Regions from separate parts of the Homo sapiens genome. Here region 2 is linked to region 1. The links are contacts of gene promoters, found by promoter capture Hi-C in human tissues and cell types (Jung and others, 2019). All regions are on one chromosome and are shown on one strand. Each heading gives the region's core, a stretch centred on a gene start or on the middle of the fragment in contact. The rest is flanking DNA. Distances are from core to core; before and after follow the strand shown.

Region 1 (5,714 bases), core at 2,708-5,207:
GAATAGGATAGCACACCTGTAATCCCAGCACTTTGGGAGGCTGAGGCAGGAGGATCACTTGAGCCCAGGAGTTCAAGACCAGCCTGGGCAAGATAGCAAGACCCCATCCCTACCAAAAAAAGAAAAAGAAAGAGAACACAATTTTAAAAAAAGGACAGGATGGTGAGAAGGAAGGAAGGAGGAAAGGGAGAAAGGAAGCTGAGCCTTTACGGTCAGAGAGGATTTCAAAATTAAGGGAGAAGGAAGCACGGGTATGCTGGGCAGTGGGAACGGCTTGAGCAATGCGTGGAGGCAGGACAACAGAAGAGTGTTCAAGGAACAGTGTGTACTCAGGCCTAGTTACAGCAGAGGGGGTCAGGAGGAGGGAAGGAAGTCGATTCTGGGAAGGCGCCTGGAGACCGGAGGCTCCAAACGCAGCACTGAGCCCCTGACTGCTCTCAGAGAGGGCACCTGAGCAGACAAAGCTGGGCCATGGAGGCAGATTCTGGAAGGATGAGAAAAAAACTGGAGATAGGGAGGCCTGGGAGGGAGACAAGTTAGGAACAGATCTACACACTGGAGGGTTTAAACGATGGGTTTGAAACTCAGCCAGAACTGAGTTAGAATCCTGGCTCTGACTTGACGTGGCCAACCCTAAGCAAAGAATCTCTCACCTCTCTATGCCTCAGCTTCCCCATCTGTTGTTTTTGTTTTTTTTTTTTTGAGACCGAGTCTTGCTCTGTCACCCAGGCTGGAGTGCAGTGGTGCAATCTCGGCTCACTGCAACCTCCGCCTCCCACATTCAAGCGATTCTCCTGCCTCAGCCTCCCAAGTAGCTGGGATTACAGGTGCCCGCCATCACACGCCTGGCTAATTTTTGTATTTTAGTAGAGACAGGGTTTCATCATGTTGGCCAGGCTGGTCTTGAACTCCTGACCTTAGGTGATCCCCCTGCCTCGGCCTCCCAAAGTGCTGGGATTACAGGCTTGGGCCACTGAGCCTGGCCCCCATCTGTTGAATGGAGACAATCTCAGTGCTGTCATAAGGACTCAGAGTTAACACATACAAAGCCCTTAATTAAGATAGATGCTATTTTAAGATAAAAAATGACAGAAAAAAATTGACAAAAAAGACTAAAAAAAAAAAAGAAGAAAAAACTTAAAACAGTGTCTGGTGTACAGTAAGGATTAGAATTATTTGATCTGCATCTTGCAAGGTGATATCCTTGGACAAGTGACTTGAATTCTCTGTGCCTCAGTTTCCTCATCTGTAAAAGGGGATAATAATAGTATCTACCTCAGCCGGGTGCAGTGGCTCATGCTGGTAATTCCAGCACTTCGGGAGGCTGAGGCGGGTGGATCACTTGAGGTCAGGAGTCTTGAGGTCAGCCTGGCCAACATGATGAAACCCTGTCTCTACTCAAAATACAGAAATGAGCCAGGTGTGGTGGCGGGCACCTGGTGTCTCACCTACTCAGGAGGCTGAGGCAGGACAATCACTTGAACCCAGGAAGTGAAGGCTGCAGTGAGCCGAGATGGCACCACTGCACTCCAGCCTGGGCAACAGAGCGAGACTGTCTCAGAAAAAAAAAAAAAGTATCTACCTCATTAGGGTTGCTGCGAGGAGTGAGTGAGTTAATAAAAGCACAGCACTTAGCACAGGGCTAAACATGAGTGAGTGCTAATTGTTGTTGTTATTATTATTATTATTATTATTATTATTCACCCACTTCCAGCTCAGCTGTTCTGAGATGCCAAGGAAGTGAGAGGGCAGGCAGAGAGAAAAAAGCAATGGGGCCCAGGAGGGTCAGCCCCTGCACACAGGCACAGGCACGTCAAGGCAGGTCTGTCTCTCACAGCTAGGGCCACATGTGTGAACACGTCCCCAAGGAAGGCATGTGGGGTGAAGCGGGGCTCAGGGCAGACTCCAGCCAGGGGCCCCAGAGCAAAAAGAGGCCTCAGCAGGCAAGCTGGCAAGCTGATGGACTCCGGACTCGGCTCCCAGCCCCACGGCTCCCAGCCCCACGTGAGGCTCTCCAGTTTCACACCGGCCTCTGCTCTGTCCCGCCCTCCCTGAACCTGCCCGGCCGGTCCTCCTGATTCACCAGGGGAGAGCCACACCCAAGCTGGGGGTGACGGTGGACAAAGTAAACAAGAGTGTTCAGGGGGCTCCTTGGGGATGTAGGGGTCACAGGGGAGACCAGGTGGGCTCCCGGCTAGGCCAAGGATCCTTTGGCGTTTGGGGTCACACAGCCCTTTTGCGAATCTGATGCAAGCTGGGGGAATCGCTTTGCTCCCTAGAAAAATGTACATACAAATAGGCTAAGGGGTGGTGAAGGTTTGTGACCCTTTAAGACAGCCACAGGCCCCAGATTAAGAAATGTGGGGTAGAAAGTGCACCCTGCCTGTCTCCCTATCCCAGTGTTCTTCAGATTCCAGAGGATTAGACAGATGTCAGACCGTCGCTGCAACAATGTATGTGAACACGCACGGCAGGCTCCTTAGTCCTACAATTTCAGGGGTTCCTGGGCCCCATAAAGTCGGTCAGTGGCCCTCCATTGTAGACCCCCAGGAGTGGAGACAGTGCAGGAAGGGGAAAGGAGAGAATTAAGAAGGGGTGCCTGGAGTGAATTAGTAACCTGGCTGTCAGAGGGAGGAGGTCAGTGGATGGAAGAGGTTCCCGGAGATGAAATTGCTGGTGGGCAACTAACAGTAAATGGGTAGAGAACTTCCTAAGCAAAGGCGGAGGAATAAGGAGTTTTGCGTGATGTGGCTCAAGGGCAGGATGGGTCCCACTCACCCCAGACCTGTCCTCGGGATCGCTGGCACCTCCGCCCCCGGCCACCACGTCATCCTCAGACTCGTCGAAAGAAGAGGCAGAGGAGAAGCCGCCGCTGCCCCCCTCAACCCGGGAGGGGGGTCCCACTGGCTGGGCCTCAGGCTCAGGGGTCTCAGGGGTAATGATGAGGCGGGGCACAGGGCACAGGGGGCTACACTTCAGGTGAGAGTACAGGTGAGTCAGCAATTCTCCAGGCTCTGGTTCCTCTAATGGGCCATCCTCAGGCTCTCCCAAGAGGCAGTCTGTCCCAGGTGCTGTCTGGGAACCGTCAGTGCTAGGTTGTGTCCAGGAGCCATCAGTATCCTGTTGTATTTGGAAACCACCAGTGCCAGGCTGTTTCCTGGCTGCTTCAGTATCCTGTTTTTTCTGGGAGCCATCAGTATATGGCTCTGTCCAGGGACCTTCAATATCCTGTTGTGTCCTGGAGCCATCAGTATACAATTCTTTCCAGGAGCCATCAGCACTTGGCTCTTTTGAGGGACAGGCTCCTTCTGGGTGAGTCTGGAGGCTGGAACTGTTCTGGTGGGTCCAGAGGTTATCAGCCCAGGACTTGACCCTCTCTGGCTGAGTCTGTGACCCATGCGTTTCCAGCTCTGTCCAGGGCCCATGAACCCCTGGCTGTGTCCAGGGGCTGGCCTCCTCGGGCTGAAACTGGAGGTCGGACCTGTGCGGATCAGTCCAAAGGCCATCTGTCCCGGTCTCCGTCCAAAGACAAGTCGTCTCCAGCTCTGACCAGCTCCATTCTAGATGCGTCCGGAGGCTGGACCTGTCTGGCTCCGTCTTTTGCTTGGGCCTCTCGGTCTCTACTCCAAGGCCAGCTGCCGCGGGCTCAGTCTGTCCGTCTGTCCAGAATTCTGCCTGCGGACTCTCTGTCCCCGGCGCAGGCCCGAGGCCGGCCCTCTCAGGCTCGCTGTGGAGGCTGGACCCCTCTGTCCGGGCCCAGGGCCCGCCCCCCTCCGGCCGCCCCGCCGGGGCCCCTGCGCCGGGCCCAGGTCGCTGCTGTCCCGGCTGCCGCCGCCGCCCTCCTCGCGGCGCCTCCAGTCCCATGCGGGCCGCCGCGGGCAGCGCCCCGGCCTCCGCCTCGTTCAGGCTCCCACGGCACGGGCAGCGCCTCATGCCCGCTCCTTCGGTTCGGGCTTCGGCCGACCCGGCCCCTCCTATCCCTTTAAATCCCGCGAGGGGTGTGGCTGGGGAGCCCCGACTCCCGGGTTCCGGCCCGCGGAGCTCCAGCCCGCCCCGCCGCGCAAGGGTTAACCGATACTCCCCTCAAAGGGGAAAGCCCCGAAGCCCCGCCCCACCGGACGTGACGGAACGGAACGAGACGGAGCCTTGTCCGACTCCGCCTCCCAAGGGGAGGGGGTTTGCCTCTGAGCATCCGAAGCGCGGCCAGGTATGCATCTAGGGCACCGGGGTCCTGGTGGCGCGCCAGTGGGCCCCCTCCCTCCACCCCTGTGACTAAACCACCCTCCCTACACGGTTGAATGACAAGTTCAACCTTCCCTAAAACCCCCGGTGACGAGTCCAGCCGCGCGCCCATTCTTCACGCAGGGGCGGGACGGACTTTCAAAGACTTGGAGTTCCCACGGGTGTGGGTTCGAGACCTTCCTCTGCCAGTTCCCAGCTCCGCTACCCTGAGCAAATGACTTACGCTCCATTGGATTTTCCGTAAGAAATCTCTGTCATGTATAGAGTACTTGTTCTGTATCAGACCCTGACACGATTTCAGTTCATTCTCCAAGGCTGAACAATAGGGATGCCAGGGCTCCATTTTACACGTGAGAACAGAGGCTCAGAGATCTGCCGGCCTCTACCCTTTGCTTGCAGCTACGGGGCTATCTGACATGATCTCATGTATGTGAAGCATGTGGCCCCGGGCCTGGCACTGTCAGTTGTAGCCCAGTAGGATTATTTATTGTCCTAGGTGATTTTGATATATTTTGCCCCCAAGGCTGAGCTGCCACCCAGCTCCTGAGTCAGCCGTTCACCTCTGAAGGGGGAGAGGAGGTGGTTTGTCTTGAAATTGAGTCAACTGGGGGAGACATTGGGCACAGGTCCAAGGCTCTAAAATGAGTCACCTTTTCACAGACCAATGAGAGAAATCGAAGGCAGGAGCCCACCTAGTACCTCATACAGGTTGGGAAGGAGAAGTCCAGAGAGGGATGAGGGCTTTTCTGAGGTCACACAGTACGGGAATAGAGACAAAGAGGCCTGATTCCCGACAAGAGGGGTTGGGGCAGCGGGGTTCTGTGGGGGAAGCATCGGCATCCCTCCCTCTCCCAGTGGTGGGAAAGATGCCCCAACCAGATGCCTCTATTCCAGACTGTGAGAAGTGGGTGAGTCAGCCTGTTGTGGGGAGAGCAGGCTTTCCAACGCGCGCGCGCACACACACACACACACACACACACAGAGAAAGAAAGATAGGATGGGAGGTGGTTTTCTGGGATGCCAAGGTTCCTGACTCAGCACTGGGAATCTTGGCTGAGTGTGTTCTGGGAAATGTCAGGCCTACAGGAAGCAGAGGGCTCCCAGTCGCACCATTCCGCAGGTGGGCGGGGAGCGGAGAGAACAGGGTGTGTGAGGGAACAGAGACTCAGTGTGCAAGTGGGGGGGAGGGTATGTACACGAGAGAGTTGAAGGCGTGAGCGGGAAACAGTTGGCAAGCAAGGCAAGGGATTTATATGCACAAGGAAGGAGGTTGGGTGCCAGAATGTGGGTGTTTGTGCAAAGTGGAGGGGCTCCATGTGCAAGGGAAATGTTTGCTGGGAAGAATGTGTATTCAAAGGAATTGTGTTGAGCCTGCCAGGGGTAAAAATAAGAAGGGGGGTTGGCAAGATATTCGTGCAGAAGAGAGGCGTCAGGTTTGTAAGGGAGACTTTGCAAGAAAGTGTAGGGAACAG
Region 2 (5,714 bases), core at 1,250-3,749, 1.9 Mb after region 1:
GTGCGTCACCACACCCGGCTAATTTTTTGTATTTTTAGTGGAGACAGGGTTTCCCCATGTTGGCCAGGCTGGTCGCAAATGCCTGACCTCAGGTGATCCGCCCACCTCAGCCTCCCAAAGTTCTGGGATTACAGATGTGAGCCACCACACCCGGCCATAGTTGGGAGTTTTGAAGAGTCAATGTCATATAAACCAAAAAGGGTGGATGATTGTTCCAAATTCAAAGAGAATGACAGGACAGCCAGATGAAATTTACCAGCCTTTACTGACTGCTGAATAAGGGAGGAAAGTGTGACATAAGTTACCCTTGGGACCCAGGCATTCTACTCCTAGGGATATGCCCAAGGGGAATAAAAACATGTTCGTGCTAAATATTTAAACAAAATGTTCGTAGAAGCGTTCATTATTCATAACAGCCAAACAGTGGAAACAACTCGAATGTCCTTTGCAGGGGAAAGAAAACTTTACCTCTCCCTCCTACGGTCTTCAGTGGGCTTGGGTATAAAACTACCATAAGAATGCCGGGCGCAGGGCTCACTCCTGTAATCCCAGCATTTTGGGAGGCCAAGGCGGGCGGATCACCTGAGGTCGGGAGTTTGAGACCAACCTGACCAACGTGGAGAAATCTTGTCTCTACTAAAAATACAAAATTAGCCGGGCATGGTGGTGCATGTCTGTAATCCCAGCTACTTGAGAGGCTGAGGCAGGAGAATCCCTTGAACCCAGGAGGCAGAGGTTGTTGCAATGACCCGAGATCACGCCATTGCACTCTGTCTAAAAAACAAACAAACAAAAACAAACAAACAAAAAAAAACTGGTATAAGAAGGCTCACGCCTGTAATCCCAGCATTTCGAGAGGCCGAGGCAGGTGGATCACCTGAGGTCAGGAGTTCAAGACCAGCCTGGCCAACATGGTGAAACCCCCGTCTCTACTAAAAATACAAAAAGTAGCCAGGCGCAGTGACACATGCCTGTAGTCCCAGCCACTCGGGAGGCTGAGGTGGGAGAATTGCTTGAACCTGGGAGGCGGAAGTTGCAGTGAGCCGAGATCACACCATTGCACTCCAGCCTGGTGGCAGAGAAGACTCTGTCTAAATAAATAAATAAATATGTTAAATTAAATAAAAATAAAAAGAGTCCAAACCTGCCCCACCAAATAACCCAATCCTCAAACCATTAGCTCACGCTAATGCCTCCACTTCCAGTCCAGCTCCACAGGGCTGGTGCCTACCTCTCCCTTTCCATATCTGTAACTCCCTCCCAGAAAAAAAAAGCAGTTCCAGTCCTCATCTCTGACTCCCACATGGCACCTCCCCCCGAGGCTGGTTCCAATGCCCCTCGTCGGGCACCCACCCCACACAGGTGTCCTCCTCCCATGCTGGGAGTGCAGGCTCCCTGTCACGTGTCCTGCTGGCCCTCACTGGGCACTTACGCGCAGCCTCTGCTGAGCGCTCCTCATCCTGCTCAGCCCTGACCCCCAAACACCTCTCCCAAGGACATCCCACCCCAATCAGCCCATTCAGGGCCACCATGACCTTGCTCAGCCCCACATAATAGCTTTAGGGCCCAATTGTTCAGCAAAGGAAGGAAAGGAAGGAAAGGAAGGAAAGGAAGGAAGAAGAAAAAGCTATGCATGTATTTTACTGTTTAAGCATTGAAATGTACAAGAATCACTAGGAAACTTACAAGAATTACTTGGATGAGTTTATAGAGCAATTGAAACACTGAAAAATGAATAACCTCTAAAATTATGCATTCAGTTTAAAATATTTAAGAGAGTTTAATTAACTAAGTTTATAAATGGAACTGAACACTAGAGAATAGACTTTTTCTTAGCGGTAATTGGATTGTTTTATTAATATTTACTATATTTATAAAAATAGAGTCGTGAGATTTCCAATGGGCATAAAAGCTTAAGAACAAAGTGAGTTTCTGGGGTTTTTTTGTTTTTGTTTTTGTTTTTTTGTTTGGTCTTTTTTTGATGGAGTCTTGCTCTGTCGCCCAGGCTCAAGTGCAGTGGTGCGATCACACACCACAACCTCCGTCTCCCGGGTTCAGGTGATTCTCCTGCTTCAGCCTCCCAAGTAGCTAGGATCACAGGTGTGTGCCACCACACCCAGCTAATATAGATATATATAATTTTTTGGTATTTTTAGTAGAGGCAGGGTTTCACTATGTTGGCCAGGCTGGTCTCAAATTCCTGACCTCAGGTGATCCACCGCCTTGGCCTCCCAAGGTGCTGGGATTACAGGGTGAACCACTGCGCCTGGCCAAGAACAAAGTGAGATTTCTTTCCTTTTTTTTTTTTTTTTTGAGAGGAAGTCTCGATCTTGTCCCCCAGGCTGGAGTGCAATGGCGTGATCTTGGCTCACTGCAACCTCTGCCTCCCAGGTTCAAGCGATTCTCCTGCCTCAGCCCCCCAAGTAGCTGGCATTACAGGTGCCTGCCACCATGCCCGGCTAATTTTTTCTATTTTTAGTAGAGACGGGGTTTCACCCTATTGGCCAGGCTGGTCTCGAACTCCTGACCTCAGGTGATCCGCCCGCCTCGGCCTCCCAAAGTGTTGGGATTATAGGCATGAGCCACCGTGCCCAGCCAAAGTGAGATTTCTAAGTGTCATTTTCATCATCAGAATGTTGATTTACAAAAAGCAGCCCCAGAATTACCTTCACTGTGTATAAAAAATAACCAAAATGTGACCAACAAATGACATTCATGGAGCCTGAATTTTAAATCTCTACAACCACCTAGTGTGCAATTAGCTACTTTTCATCTAAATTATTTCCTAAAAGAGGCATAAAGTAAGAAAAATCAGTCTACTCCCTCTTCTTTATTTTGAGACAAAAGAACCTCGGTGGCTAGTCAATGCTCAGCAGTGGCCAGGCCCAGTGGCTCATGCCTGTAATCCCAGCACTTTGGGAGGCTAAGGCAGGCAGATCGCTTGACTCCAGGAGTTCAACACCAGCCTAGGCAACATCGTAAAACCCTCTCTCTACAAAAAATACACAATTAGCCAGGCATGGTGGCGTGTGTCTGTAGCCCCAGCTACTCGGGAGGCTGAGGTGGTGAGCCCAGGAGGTTTAAGCTTGGAAGATTGAGGCTGCAGTGAGCGGAGACTGCACCACTGCACTCCAGCCTGGGTGACAGAGTGAGACCCCCATCTCAAAAACAAAACAAAACAAAACAAAACAAAAAAATGGTCAGGAGTGACACTGGCCAGTGGCTTCCTGGAACTAGAAGAGAGGCCACTATTTCCTGGACACCAGGAAACTTAATTGAGGAGGTGGTTAGATAGGTCTCCACAGTTCTCAAAATCAGTGAACTATACCTTTAATATCTGCATCTTTTATTTTATGGGAAGGATACCTTGATAGAAAGACTATTGAGAAATATATACATTTATTATTATTATTATTATTATTATTATTATTATATATACTTTTTGAGACAGAGTCTTGTTCTTTTTGCCCAGGCTAAAGCGCAATGGAGCTATCTTGGCTCACTACAATTTCTGCCTCCTGGGTTCAAGCAATTCTCCTGCCTCGGCCTCTCGAGTAGCTGGGAATGCAGGTGTGCACCACCACACCCGGCCTACATTAACTATTTAAAATTGAAAAAAGGTGACCAGGTGCGTTGGTTCACACTTGCAATCACAGCACTTTGGGAGGCTGAGGCAGGTGGATCACCTGAGGTCAGGAGTTCAAGGCCAGTCTGGCCAACATGGTGAAACCCCGTCTCTACTAAAAATACAAAAAGTAGCCAGGCGTGGTGGCAGGCACCTGAAATCCCAGCTACTTGGGAGGCTGAGGCAGGAGAATCACTTGAACCTGGAAGGCAGAGGTTGCAGTGAGCCAAGATCAAACCACTGCACTCCTGCCTGGGCAACAGAGCGAGACTCTGTCTCAAAAAACGAGAAAGAAAAAGAAAAAAGGCTCACGAAAATATTATTTCAGGCCAGGCGCAGTGGCTCACACCTGTAATCCCAACACTTTGGGAGGCCGAGGAGGGCAGATCACGAGGTCAGGAGTTCGAGACCAGCCTGACCAACATGGCGAAACCCTGTCTCTACTAAAAATACAAAAATTAGGCCAGGCGCGGTGGCTTATGCCTGTAATCCCAGCACTTTGGGAGGCCGAGGCGGGCGGATCATGAGGTCAGGAGACCGAGACCATCCTGGCTAATACAGTGAAACCCCGTCTCTACCAAAAATGCAAAAAATTAGCTGGGCGTGGTGGCGGGAGCCTGTAGTCCCAGCTACTCAGGAGGCTGAGGCAGGAGAATGGCGTGAACCAGGGAGGCGGAGCTTGCAGTGAGCCGAAATGGTGCCACTGCACTCCAGCCTGGGCGGCAGAGCAAGACTCTGTCTCAAAAAAAACCAAAAACAAACAAACAAAAAAATTAGCCAGGCATGTTGGTGGGTGCCTGTAATCCCAGCTACTCAGGAGGCTGAGGCCAAAGAATCACTTCAACCCGGGAGGTGGAGGTTGCAGCGAGCCGAGATCGCACCACTGCACTCCAGCCTGGGTGACAGGGTGAGCCTCTGTCTCAAAAAAAAAACAAAAGAAAAAAAAAACAAAAGAAAATATTGTTTCACAACTGATGAGAAACATAACCAACACTAATGAATAAGAGCCCATCGAGGATGCATATCTCAGTTACAGGAAAGGAGCCAGCCTTTTAGACTGGTAACAGATTGACTGCAACCATTTGACCAATCACTTAAGGCAAGTTGGGACTTGCACGTTGGTTGGGTGTGAAGTCATATCCAGCCACAGTGAAGAAATAGAAATAAATAAAAAGATGTTCTTGGGAAACAATAGCAAGGTACAGAATGATGTATCAAGTAATGTAAGGAGTGTCTTTTCTTTTTGTGGACTGAGGTCTCACTGTGTTGCCCAGGCTGGAGAGCTGTGGTGTGATCATAGCTCCCTGCAGCCTCTGATCTCCTGGGCTCAAGCAATTCTCCTGCCTCAGCCTCCCAAGTAGCTGGAATTACAGGCAGATGTGCGCCAACCCACTGGGCTATTTTATTTTATTTTTATTTTTTGTAGTGATGAGGTCTTGCTGTGTTGCCCAGGCGAGAGTGTCTTCTTTAGAATGGTCAATAATGTTAGAACAATGGAGTCCACCATTCAGGGGAACATTCTCGGGAACTAACTGAGCTGGGCTGGTGGTATGATCACCGGACACCCTGCTATCCTCTCTGTCCGTGCCCATGACATGTCCTTGGCACAAAGACCCCTCTGGAGCTGAGGGGCTGGCCTCTTCCTTGACTGAGAGGTGGCCCCTGTCTAAGCCTCAGTTTTGTCCTCTGCAGAATGGGGGTGCTTGCAGCCCCTACTGAAATGCAGCTGCTAGCCTCCCTCTCTGAGCTCATGTTCCCAAGAACTGGTCCCTGAGCTTGGTGCCTTGGAGTGTGTGGGGAGGGGGCGAGAGGCTGGGGGCCTGGGACGCAGAGGGTGGAGGATGGTTCTGGGTCTGCTGTCTCCACCCAAACTTTCCACTGCCAGCCTGCCTCTGCCCAGGCCTCTCAGCAGCCTGCTGGGTGGGGCAGGAGCTGGAGTGGCGAGTGGAAAAGGTCCAGGAGGGCTGCTGGGCTGCTAGGAGTGGTTTCTGCTCAGCTCCCACACCATCCCTGCCTTTCAGAAGCATCTTTCAGCCCTACCCGCCCCTCCACCAAGCCAATTCCCCAACCCTGAGTTCTCTTGCAGAGT

What was found. The method cuts DNA at HindIII sites, captures the fragments that hold promoters and counts their contacts. A contact is called where the count stands out against the background at its distance.
Region 2: a contact is called between a fragment that was not itself captured here and the fragment with the promoter of ITPKC in region 1, in 1 of the 25 tissues and cell types used here (spleen).

The regions. Positions count from the first base shown.
Region 1 is chr19:40,715,355-40,721,068 of GRCh38, reverse strand. ITPKC (inositol-trisphosphate 3-kinase C) reads right to left here and starts at 3,957. Exons shown (of 7, transcript NM_025194.3): 1 at 2,779-3,957. The coding sequence starts at 3,933. COQ8B (coenzyme Q8B) reads left to right here and starts at 4,183. Exons shown (of 15, transcript NM_024876.4): 1 at 4,183-4,482. RefSeq lists enhancers at 1,432-2,133, 4,637-4,716 and silencers at 3,707-4,066, 5,387-5,436. The HindIII fragment of the contact is 31,130 bases long and covers 1-5,714 here.
Region 2 is chr19:38,774,646-38,780,359 of GRCh38, reverse strand. No RefSeq gene overlaps it. Among named protein-coding and RNA genes, the nearest start is that of LGALS7, 4.0 kb to the right of the region's middle. The HindIII fragment of the contact is 4,464 bases long and covers 268-4,731 here.